Linked DNA regions of Homo sapiens: region 2 is linked to region 1. The links are contacts of gene promoters, found by promoter capture Hi-C in blood cells and fetal thymus (Javierre and others, 2016). All regions are on one chromosome and are shown on one strand. Each heading gives the region's core, a stretch centred on a gene start or on the middle of the fragment in contact. The rest is flanking DNA. Distances are from core to core; before and after follow the strand shown. Region 1 holds the start of SLC22A15 (solute carrier family 22 member 15). Region 2 overlaps CASQ2 (calsequestrin 2).

Region 1 (6,250 bases), core at 2,510-5,009:
ATAGTTTCTATTTATCATTTCATCACACTTGTACTGTTAGATTGTTTAATGTTTGCTAATATAGCAAGTGTGAAATGGTATTTCATATCCATTTTAATATGCCTGTCCCAGATGACCACTGAAGTTAAAACATCTTTTCGTGTGTTGACTATTACAGTTTCCTCTTCTGCAATCATTCTACTTTCTAAAATGCTGAGAAAAGCTATTTATTGCATGGATAATATTAATGCACTGGTCATTCCAGGATCTAAAAAATAAGGTTATTAAGTATATATATATACTTAATATATATATAAAAATAATGCATTCCTGAACACCAGAATCTAAGATGAGATTCATAGCACAGCATCACAATTTTGCTGGTGAATGCTTGTTATAGATTACATGTTCCTGATAGTAAATGGGGGCTTTAAATTCTGTGCAAATTATAATATAATGTACGATTCATGATTTTGAGGAAAATGACAAAGCAGGAGCCTCTGGCTTAGAACAAAGAAGTAACGTCCATTTTCATTGCATGTCTAAAGGAATCAAGAAACAATGAATTGTATTCCAACCCTCCTCCTCCAGAGAGCCTAGACAACAAGCAAACACATACACAAACACAAAATAGTGACGATGGCAGCAACTCGGAATCACCATCAGAAGAGAAACAGTAATATGCTAAATAGAATTATTCCTATTTAAATATCGCAGATAGCTCTGATCCTAGGGAGAGCAAGTACATTTTGATGGTAAGAATGTTTCTAACTGTAAAGCTTATTGTTTATTCATAAGTCAACCATTTTTACATAGGCAATCTTTTTCCCTTCACTTTTTGTTTATGTACATTAATACCACATATCACCATTTTCAGGGCATTTGCATCTTACGCTGAGGAAAAATCTGCAAAATCTGCATCTGTTCTTTAGTTATCTCAAAGTTGAATGCTATTGAGATTCCAAAAATTGTGTTTGCAAGGAGTATGAGGGCAAGTCTCCTAGCCAAAGGAAACTGGATAGTGAAGTAACTTTTGATGATCTACATGATGGTACCAATAATTCAAGAAAACAGTTAACCAAAAACCCTTTAGAATTGGCTTTGCTATGTGGTTTTGTCCTCTTAGTTTGAACATAGATGTGTTTGGGGTAAAGGGAAAATCATTTTTAAAAATAATAATAATGGTCCCAGAAGAAGGAAAATGTTAAAAGGCCTGTAAAATTTCCACCTCTGTCCTTCTGGTTTTGTGCCTCTCAGCTGGGGTTAATCATTATCAAATCGCAGATGGGGAGAAGGCTCCCACTGAAGCAGAGGCTCCCTCTCTCTGGCCTTGTTGCTGTGTTGTTGGTCTGCCCCTTCCTTGGGCAATGGTACGAAAACTCCTTTGATTTTAAAAGCAGAAAAACCCCCTTTCATTTAAGGCAACTGTGTAAAAAGGGCTTCTTACTCTGCTGGGGGAAGCAAAACCTCATCCCCAAGAATGATGAAATCACCTGTGATACAACTGAGCAATGGGACTCCACAGTACTCCCACTCCACAGACCAGCTGCCGTAATACAAAACATCTCCAACAACAGACTTGGTAGAGAGGTCTTTGGGGATATCCACTCTCATACCCAGGGTAGCTCTGGGTGGCTCTACAACCCCCTGGATCATGTATCTCAATGGGGTAACTGAGTCCTTAAAAACACGTAGCATGTGAAGGATTCACTTTTGCCTAGGCTGGCATCTCCTCCACTGGTATAAGCACAGCTACAGGGCATCTTCCCACCCACATCTATAAGATAAACAATCAGTCACTCATCCCCAACACTCTAAGACCTGGTCCTTGTACCGCAAATACTGACCATAAATCATCCAAGGTTTAGTGAACGGTCATAGGCATGGGCTTGGAACTTTTTGATAGCAAACTCTAACTAACTGGGTCAACCATAAATAAAAGTAAGTTAGAGAAACTTAACAGGTCCTAAACCGAGAACACTGGCCTTTTTAGAACCTCACTCTACTGAAGACAAACTTACTCCAAGTTAGTGGATACTTGGCTAGGCAAATAAGAAAATGATAACAGGAAGTGAAGGGTAGGGATAGAGGGATGGGGAGCTGGGATTGTTCAAGAAAGGATGTATGTTCCTGGAATTCATGGCTGGAACAGAAAAAAAGGGTTTTCTCAAAGAAACTGTTATAAATAAAGATCAGGCATCATGGTTGCAATTCTTCTTTCTCGGTATTAAATACTCTTATCATTTAGCTTGAACGTTTTTTCTCCCTGGGGAAAGCTTGTTTAAAGCTAAAACAACGAGCTTAAAAGAACTTCAGAATACCACATATTCGTGAGCTGAGAACTGTTCGGCTAGAAAAAGAACTGACTCCATCATTTGAACCGTTTCTGGCTGATGATGAAATCAACTGAACTTCCAAACATTTTAATCAATAAGTCAACCCCTACCTTCCCCCATCTTCCTGTTGAGCCACTGTCTTATGCAAGCTTTAAGCAACTTGTGGACTGGTGGCTATATCCATGACCACTCTGTACTTCCTGCAGAATAACTATCATCACATGCTAACTAAATTACTTAACTGTCTGCCTGCCCCACCCGCAGCCACTGGAATGCAAGCTCCTGAGGGCAGTCAATGATTTGTCCACCATGGCATCCCTATGTTCAGCACATCCTAGCCCGTATTAAACCTGATGACTGAAGGAAAGAGTAAAATGGCTGGCTCACAGCAAATACTAAGAAAGGATTTGTGAATGAAATGCCTCTGGCATATTGAGAGAAGCGACTAATGTCAAATGAGCCATTTAAGTTGGTGAAGGACTAATCCTTGCCTGGCGCAGTTAATCTGTAGTGACCTTTCGCATATGGAATCGATATTTTGAGGCTGGGGTGTACAAGTAGGTTCTGAGAATTCTTTATAATGAAGAAGTGATTCCATTTGATAACCACACATGGTAGATGGCACTATTCGGCTCACGGGAGTCTCAGCCCAAGGCTGGCGCAGGGCCGAATGAGCCAGCAGAACTTAAACCAGAGGGAAATAAATCCTATGCTTTGAAAGCCCCTAGAAGAGTAAGCCCCCTCAAGCCCAGGAAAAGAGGCAGAGGACACCCGGCGCAGAGGGAGGCGATCCTAGACACAACCTTTTGTCTGCAGATTATCAAGACTGTGTCCTAGATTCCAAGGTGACAGTGCCACAGGTAGGGTAACAATTCCCTTCATATTTGCAGCGTGTTATAGGCAACAGCGTAGGGCAGGTAACACAATTTTGCATCCCTCCTTAACCAGCATAGCGGCTGAGAAACCTCCCCCAACACGCTCCTTCCACCACTCAAGGTGGCGGGGTGGAGGGCCCAGCAGAACCCAAGAGGCTCTGAGGCCGGCCGGCGACCTTGACGCTGCCGGCCGGGCCCAGGCCACCGCGCGGCGCCTCGCCCCTGCCCCACCCCGACGCTCGCCACACCTCGGTGTTTGCAGAGCCTCGGCCTCGGCCCCGGCCCCGGCGGTCTGGGAGCGGACGCCTAGCCCTGCGCCGGGCGGCCCTGAAGAGGGAAATGCGGCTGCGGGGCCGCGGGGACTTACCTGCAGCAGCACGGCCAGCAGGAAGCACAAGTACATCTGGTAGATGCCCATCTCCCCCACCGCCTGGAACGCCTCCTCCACCTCCATGGCGGGCCGCGCGCAGGAACCCCGCCACCCCACCGCCCTCTCAGGCGCTGCCCTCCCGCCCAGCGCGGCAACCCCTGGGCGCCCGGCACCGGCTTGGACCCGCCGGGGCGGGGATGGAAGCGCTGGCGGCGGGGCCGGGGCGGGCCGGGCCGGGGCGGGGCGCCTGCGCGGGCGGCGGGGCTGTCAGGCTCGAGAGGTGGACGCCGGGCGGGGAGCGGGGAGCGCAGCCGGGCTACGCGGGGCGAGGGGCGAGGAGGGCGTTCGAGATCCGGGGCTGGATGCCCTGGACCCGGGCCTCTGGACTTCCTGTTTAAAAAAAAAATGGTGTTTTGGTGTACGTTTTGTTTTGAGAGGGACCGCTGTCTGCGCCTTAAAGTGAGGAAAGAGGAAGTGGGCCGGGCTGAGGGCCTGAGAAGAAACATCGGGACCGCGTCCGCGTGTGACCCAGGGCTCTGCCTACAGGGGACCCGCAGCTGGCGGGCGGCCTGGCGGCTCTCAGCAATGCCTGTCGTTTTGCCCAAACCAGTTTAATGCGGGGGCTTGGGGAGCCCTAGAGCCTTCAGAGAAAAGTGCTGTCTGTGCAGCATTTCTTTCCAGTCCTATTCTGTGCTAGCCATGGGTTAAGTACACTGGTAGGCAAGCAAATTCTTGTAAAACCGTCGGATACATTTGCTTATAGAAGTATGCACGAGGTACAAAGGAAGTGCAAAAGACGAAGGGGCAGGATGTGATGGCTGCCAAGGTATTTAAAGGATAAACGGCAGTTTGTCAGGTGGAAATTAAAAAAAAAAAGCGTGGCAGGGCCAAGGGACGCTGGACACCTGCGTTAGTCCCCTCATGCCTCCACCTCCTAACCTCATTTGCCTTTTTGTTTATTATGTGTTGTCTTTTTAACAGCTGCATAGTATTCCATTGTCTAGACCATGACTTCTAGTTTAACATTGAATAGAAATGGCGACCAGCTAGTGTCCTTGACCTGCCAGTATCCTTCTTATGCTTCCAAAATTTTCCGTTAATTGTGATGTCTGTTGCAGCGTATTGGTAGCTAGGCTTTACTGGTCAGCTGCTTTCTTTTTTTAGCAATTAAATGAATGCTCACTGTAATTGAATTTATCAGTGGGTTGGAAACTGTAAACTCTATAAACTCTTAAGATTTTTTTCTCTCTCTTACTTAAGGAAACGTTTTCTGTATAAGTACTATTAATAGTTTAAAAAGTTTCCTTCTTTGGCTGTTTCCTACGAATCCTCATTATTAATAAATGCTGAAGTTTAATAAGTGCTTTTTGCATTTATTGACATGATCCTATTGTTTTTCTTCTTGAATCTGATAATCGGGTACATTATGGTAATAGTTTTTTTGATATTGAACTTTACTGGAATAAATCCTATTAATACTTGCTCACGATATTGCTATTTATTGCCAAATTTAATTTGCTAGTGTTTTGTCTAGGGACTTTACATCTGTGACTAGCGAACTAGGCCTATAATTTTCTTTTCTTCCTGATGCTTATGTCTAGATTTGGCAGTAAGATTTTATAGTGCTTTCATAACATGAGTGTGAGTGTTTGGTAAAACTCTCCTGCAACCATCTAGACTTAGCTTGTTTTGCAGGGGGAGCCTCTTTATTACAGATTTATAGATAATGGGTAAAGATAAATAGGTGTGTATAACTAGATATATTCGTATGTCTTTGCATTTCTTCTTGAACCACTTTTTTTCTAGAAATGTTTCTATTTTATCTAGTTTAGAAATTGTTTTTGGAATAAACTAGTTCATATTGTTTTCTTGGGATTTTTAAAAATAAGGGTCTAACTGTTTATGTCCCATTTTTCATTCTGAATAGTGTTCATCTTTATTGTTCCAATCTTATCAGTCTTGCCAGAGGTTTGTCTACTTTATTATTTTTTAAAAAGTTTTGTGAATTTTTTTATTTCATTGATTATATGAATTCTTTCCTTTTTTTTTTTTTACTTTTGTTACTTTGTAATTCTTTTACTAGCCACATGACTTGAAGTTTAGCTTCTTTGCTTTTAATATTTCTTTTTGAAGAATAATTATGTGTGGCTGGGCTCAGTGGCTCACGCCTGTAATCCCAGCACTTTGGGAGGCCAAAGCTGGTGGATCACCTGAGGTTAGGAGTTCAAGTCCAGCCTGGCAAACATGGTGAAACTCCGTCTCTACTAAAAATACAAAAATTAGCCGGACGTGGTGGCACAGGCCTATAGTCCCAGCTACTCAGGAGGCTGAGGCAGGAGAATCACTTGAACCTGGGAGAAGGAGGTTGCAGTGAGCTGAGATTGTGCCATTACACTCCAACCTGGGCAACAGAGCAAGACTCTGTCTCAGAAATAAATAAATAAATAAAATAATTATATTTAAGGTTGTACTTACCTTTCTATAGGACTTTGCTCCATCCGACAAGTTTTGTCATGTGGTACTTTTGTTGTCTTTACTTTTAAATATTTCATGACATTGTCATTTCTTCTTTAACCAATGAGCTATTTTTAGTGCATTTTTTGTTTCCAATTAAAGGTTGCTATTTTTTTTACCATCTTTTTAGTGTTGTTTATAATTTATATGCTTTGTAGACAGAGATTATATTAAAT
Region 2 (6,250 bases), core at 424-2,923, 250 kb after region 1:
CGTGTGGGCCCAGAGTGTGCCAGCCCACTGAGCCACTGCTTCCTTTTTCCTTAGGGGGTATCCTCTCCCTTCCTGGGGTTGCATACTTCCCCTTCTACTGCGTCAGGATGGGAAGTAGAATGGGAACTCCTCTGTGATTAGTTCAAGCAAGTGTTCTGCGAAAAACAAGAGGAAGTCAGTGAGCTGAAGCAGGGAAGGGACGTGGTGGGATGAGATTGCATTCAGTTCATGTATATGATGAACCACTTCTGTAGACATGGCCCAGTCTTCAAGCCTATGATCCAGAAGAGTGCTCTATAATCCAAGTAACATAATCTAAACTTGAAGAATGTTTATCCTAATTAGTTGTATTACAGTTGGGAGGGATCTTGAGCAAGAATAATCAAAAAAGCTATCATGTATTAAGTGTCTATTATGGGCCAGGTGCTGTGGCTCACACCTGTAATCCCAACACTTTGGGAGGCTGACGGGGGTGGATTGCATGAGCCTTGGAGTTGGAGACCAGCCTGGGCAACATGGTGAGACCCCATCTCTACAAAAAATACAAAAATTAGCTGGGTGTGGTGGCACACACTTGTAGTCCGAACTACTTGGGAGGCTTGAGGTGGGAGGATCACTTGAGCCCAGGAGGTTGAAGCTGCAGTGAGCTGTGATCATACCATTGTACTCCAACCTGGGCAATGGAGTGAGATCCTCTCTCAAAAAATAAAAATATAAAAAATAATAAATTCAAAAAAATTTTTATGTGCCAGAGTCTGTGCTAAGAAGTCTCTTTGTGCCAGAGTGTGTGCTAAGAAGTTAACATGGATTTTCTCACTTCATCCTTTCAACACTCCCATAAGGGAGGAATTAGTATCCTCATTCTACAGAGGATGAAACTGAGGTGCTGAAAGATTAAGTGATTTTTTCATGATCATGTAGTTACTGAATTGAGAAGCTTGCTATAATCTCAGACCAGCCTGACTTCAAAGTCAATGCTCTGTCCTACTTTACTCCAGAGAAAGAAGCAATATATGCAAACTGCCTAGCTGGTTTTTGGCACACAGGAAGCATTCAGTAATAGTTAGCCAGCTATGAGCACCATTGTTCATAAGAAAGCAATCATCTAGGCCCAGGAAGTGGGAGGATTGGATAGGATATTAGTAGAGAAAGGGAGGAACAGAGAAGCCGAAACTGAATCCATTACTGACATATGGTTCTGATGGACCATTTGGTTCTAATGGACTAGGTGTGGCTAAAGAGGCTCCTGGGTAAGAATCCAGCTGAAAGGAATAGAGAGGCAGGCCAATTAATTTGTCCAGCAACAAAGCCTTAGTTTTTAGAGGGGTGGTTCAACGTTGAGCTCAGGGTAGTATTTGTTTGTAGAAGTGCCTCCTAGTGCAACTGTATAGCTTCATGCCTGTGGTCCATGAAAAAGGTGAGGTCAGGCTATGATTAAAAATTCAGAGAGATGCTTTATTCAAATTCTGTAGGACACTGAGTCATAAGTGCCAGTGTTCATGTAGCCTTGTTGGATTTCAGAATATTTAAAGAGACAAAGGTACACAGAGGGGAGAGCACTGAGAGGACTCTGATGCCATTTGGTGCTTAAGAACTTGCATCCATCAGTTGGGGTGGAGGGGGTGTCCAAGGGGAGATGGTGGAGTCCAGAAGGCATGACTGCACCTGGTAGAGCCTCAGTGGTTTCCAGCAGGGAGTGCTAGGACAGAAGAGGAGAAAAGTAATAAATGTGAAGTGGCTGAAAGGACCTGTTTGTACAACACATCCTAGGGAATCTCAGAGGGACCTGGAGGTGCTTTGTTGAGGTCTGAAACCAGGAGAGGCAAGGGACAAGAAAGCACTAATGCGGTCACAAAAATGCAAAAAACAACTGGCACTAGTAAAAGTGGATATAACAAGAAGATCTGGCCATTGATGAGATGATGAGAGAAGGCCTCAAAATAACTTAAGATAGCAAGTCTTGGCGTTAAGACAGCAAAAATTATGAAGCTACTGAAAACATTAGGAAATCCAGGAAGAAGAATCTATTGAGGAACAAGAGATGGGGTTATGAGTTCTATTTTCTAAAAGTTGGGGAAACATTCAACTGGAAATGTCCTTAATTAATTAATTAATTAATTCAGTCATTCACTCAACAAGTATTTATTGAGTGCCCTTTATGTGCCAGGCACTCTTCTTAGTGCCAGGGACACAACATTGAGCAAAGCAGATTCCTGCCCTTTAGAATTTAAAGTTTATTGTGGGAAAGAGAAGATGGAAAGACAGAAAGTTCAAAAGTAAACAAACCAATAAATACATCATATGAGTTGCAAGACTGTAAAGAGGGTGAGATGTCATGGCTGCTGATGTAAATTTGTCAGTCAGTAGTTCCCAACCACTATCCATATTAGTATCCTCCAACAAGCTTTTAAAACCATTGGTCTCTGGGCCCCAGCCCTGGAAATTTTAATTTTTTAGGGTTGTGGCAGTGTCTGGGAATCTGCATTTTCAAAAGCCACCCAAGGAATTTTAAAGGGTGTGGAGGTTTAGGACCAGTACTGATCTATTAATACTAATCCTAAATCAAGCCACACGAAGGCCCAACCTCTCTGAAGAAGCAGTTAGAACAAGAAAGTGTCAGAGGGCCAAGGATGGTTCCACTCTGCTGCACCTCACAGCCTGAAAAATATCAGTTCTTAAAATCCCATGTCCCCGCCCACTGACCTGTTCCTCTCTCTGTCTGAGTGAACAATGAGACGAAAAATCACTTTCTTTTTTAAATCACACTGGAGCCAAAGGGTGCTGTGACTAAACAAAGTTAGTGGAGAAGATAGATGTTGGGAAGACCTAAATTTAGTAATGGCAAAAACCATTACTTTTGGCAAAAACTGCGATTACTTTTGCACCAACCTAATACTTGAGTTGGTTTCATTGGCAACAACTAAAATGACTTGCTAACTGGAGGAAAAATGATTTGTATCAAAATTCATATACATGCACATGTCAGAAAATTGGCATTGTACTTTGTAGTTTTCTTATCTTTGTTGAAATCTATTCCAACTAGTTAACAGATAAAAGCATGAAAGAATTCATTTTTATGGACCCATTTGGTTCTTAATAATATAATTCATTCTTATATAATGCTAATACCCATGAACCAGATCTCCTCCTGGAATAATGCCTTGGGTTCAGTAGGCCCCACTAAATACTTACTGAATAAATGAATGAATAAAAGCTTCAACCAATCAAATCCCTTCAGTCCTTACCATCCAAGATAGGAATAATAAGAATGAAAGAGGGGGTCGGGCGCAGTGGCTCACGCCTGTAATCCCAGCACTTTGGGAGGCCGAGGGGGGAGGTGGATCACCTGAGGTCAGTAGTTCAAGACCAGCCTGGCCAACATGGCGAAACCCCATCTCTACTAAAAATACAAAAATTAGCTGGGTGTGGTGGCCTGTGCCCATAATCCCAGCTACTCGGGAGGCTGAGGCAGGAGAATCGCTCGAACCTGGGAAGCGGAGATTGCAGTGAGCCGAGACTGTGCCATTGAACCCCAGCCTGGGCAACAAGAGCAAAACTCTGTCTCACCAAAAAAAAAAAAAAAAAAAAAAAAAAAAGAATGAAAGAGAGGGATTCTCTGAGATACAAGATGAGAGCACTCCATGATGGTGGTAGGTAGACAGTGAAGAGATCCCTGGGAAATTTTTACTTAGCATTTCCAAGACTTAAATTAAGGACACGACAATCCAATTTTTACATTCTTAGACAGCACTGTGGACCCAGACATTGGCATTCAGAGACGAGACTATCACCACCACCAGGCGGGTTTGACTTCTGGCTCTGCTCCCTCCAGATATATGATCCTGACAAATTTCTTACCCAAATTGTGCCTCAGGTTCATCATTTGTAAAATAACTATGATAATCATTCTTACCACATACAATCAAAGTGAGAATTAAACAAAGAATCAACCTAAAACACCTGGCAGCAGTGCCTGGCACGTGATAAGCACTCCATATGTTTGTTATTATTACTGTTTTCATTCTGATCACTTCTCCTTTCATGGAAACAGTCTTCTGGTTCCTAGAATACATAGTAAGTGAACTCAGAAAACCAGAATTCAATGTCATTTTCTTGCCCACTCTGGCTCCCTGCCTCATCACCTCATCATCTACATCACCCCCCTACCCCTGAGAAGAGGGAAAAACAGTTAGAAAAAACTCCACATCTCCCTCTCTTAAAATTAACCTGACAATAAAATCTCCCTTGACTGACTATAGCTGTCAACATGGCCTGTTTTCTTGATCTCTGAGTAGGATGCTGGAATTTCTCTCCCTTAAGTACTATATGAAATGCCTTTCAGAATATAGTGACCTGGAATTCATAGCAATTGATGACAAAAACCATATGGATATCAATGTTTCCTCAGAATGGATCTCCTTGTGTAAGAGCTTATGCAATACCCAGCTCCTCCCCTTCCCCAGTTAGTTGCAGCCGCCCTGGGTCACGGCACCACGGGTTACCACCACAGTGCATCAGCTCTTAGGCAATTCCTCTTCAGCTTAAAGGGAACCACTGTTCATCCCTGCGCTTTCTTGAACCACAGCTCTGAACTAGAAAAGAGTGGCATTTGGTTTTCTATAGAGCGTTGCACATTCCAGGCCTCTGAAATCATTTCACAAACAGAGGTCCTGAGTTCAGCAGCTGTGCAGGCAAACAGCAACCATTCTGCCTTGACAACACACTGAACATGTGGCTGCTTTAATCCAGAGAGAAAATGTCTTCCTGGCTATCGGCTGGCTCTCCGAGCTCTTTATCTGTTGTAAGATGAGCAAATCATCCTGGCTTACTGGGGTCTGTCCAAGTTTCAGTACTGAAAGTCCTGCATCCCAGGGAGCCCTTCCACCCAGAACAAAGCAAGATGGTCAGTCACCTCATAACTGCTGACAAACTGGGCAGCTCCCAAAGCCTGACAAACCATGAAGCAAGTTGGGTACTGAGAGATTTAACTGTAGGGCCAGCACTTCAACCTAAAAAGCAATTAGGGCTATGAGCAGATCAAAGACAGGCTAATGGGTTGGGTTCTGATTCTGAGTACCTATATGCCTTAAGGATCTCCATCAATTGCCTGTTTTATCAACATTGGTTCCATTAAATCCATACAACACAGGATAGTAAATATGCTCCATTGGCATTTGCTTCCCATCCAGCCCTGGCAAATGCAGTAGAGTGATGGTGATTGTAGAATTAAATTTCCCACTTCGCATCTCAACTGCTCCCTGCCCCTGCCCGACCCTCATTTGCTAGATAAGTCTTTTTCCTTCCTATCTTTCCTTCTTTGATCACAAAAGAAGATTAGTCTAGCCAGGCCTTGGGTGATAAGTTCCTGTCACTTCAACATTGAAGTTAAAACTGTACATCTGTTTTTATGTCTTTGCCGGAAAACATACACACTTATCTTAGATGGACAACACACTGCTATTCTAGACTAGTATTCAAATAAACTTTGTCTTATTTCTAATGGTTACAGGTTGCAAAGAAATTATCTTTGAAGATGAATGAGGTTGACTTCTATGAGCCATTTATGGATGAGCCCATTGCCATCCCCAACAAACCTTACACAGAAGAGGAGCTGGTGGAGTTTGTGAAGGAACACCAAAGGTGCCTGAGATGGCATGTGGGGGCTGGGGGCCTGGGGTCTGGGGAATGGAGAGGAGCCTCTCTGTGCTAACATTTCAGACCTGCCAAGAGCAACAACCTAGTTAGTACCCCAGCAGTACAGAACTCAGTAGTATGGCTTTGTTGATCAGTAATGACTAGCAGGGATGTTATTACTTCTGAATCTAAGTCTGCACCTGCAAGCAGAGTTTGATAAATCCCTCAGTCAGCAAATCCCCTCAAAGCCAGGGCAAGATATAAATAAAATTCTATACTAGGAATGAGAGCAATTTAGTGAAAGTTCCCATATACCAATAACCATGCCCAGTGCTTTAGGGAAACTATTTTATCTAATCTCCAACCTTAGGGAGTAATTATTATTATCCCAATTTTACAGATCAAGGAATTGGACTCAATAGTTAAGTAACTTAGCCAAGGATGAACACTCTATGCATAGAACTTCTGGGAGAGAAATGCTTGATACCACTTAGTGTAGCTCCAGCATGGATCAGCAAACTTTTTCTGTAAAGAACAAAATGGTAAATATTTCAGGTTCTGTGGGCCAGATGGCGTCTGTAGCAACTACTTAACTGCGGCTGTGGCATGAAAGCAG

The links. The method cuts DNA at HindIII sites, captures the fragments that hold promoters and counts their contacts. A CHiCAGO score of 5 or more calls a contact.
Region 2: a contact is called between a fragment that was not itself captured here and the fragment with the promoter of SLC22A15 in region 1, in 1 of 17 cell types (monocytes). The highest score is 5.7, in monocytes.

The regions. Positions count from the first base shown.
Region 1 is chr1:115,974,022-115,980,271 of GRCh38, reverse strand. SLC22A15 (solute carrier family 22 member 15) reads right to left here and starts at 3,759. Exons shown (of 12, transcript NM_018420.3): 1 at 3,558-3,759. The coding sequence starts at 3,644. It overlaps LOC101928977 (a long non-coding RNA gene), which reads left to right and starts at 2,996. Exons shown (of 5, transcript NR_125970.1): 1 at 2,996-3,175. RefSeq lists silencers at 3,373-3,622, 3,683-3,912. The HindIII fragment of the contact is 7,335 bases long and covers 2,467-6,250 here.
Region 2 is chr1:115,726,382-115,732,631 of GRCh38, reverse strand. CASQ2 (calsequestrin 2) reads left to right here. Exons shown (of 11, transcript NM_001232.4): 6 at 5,510-5,640. Among named protein-coding and RNA genes, the nearest start is that of CASQ2, 39 kb to the left of the region's middle. The HindIII fragment of the contact is 1,467 bases long and covers 940-2,406 here.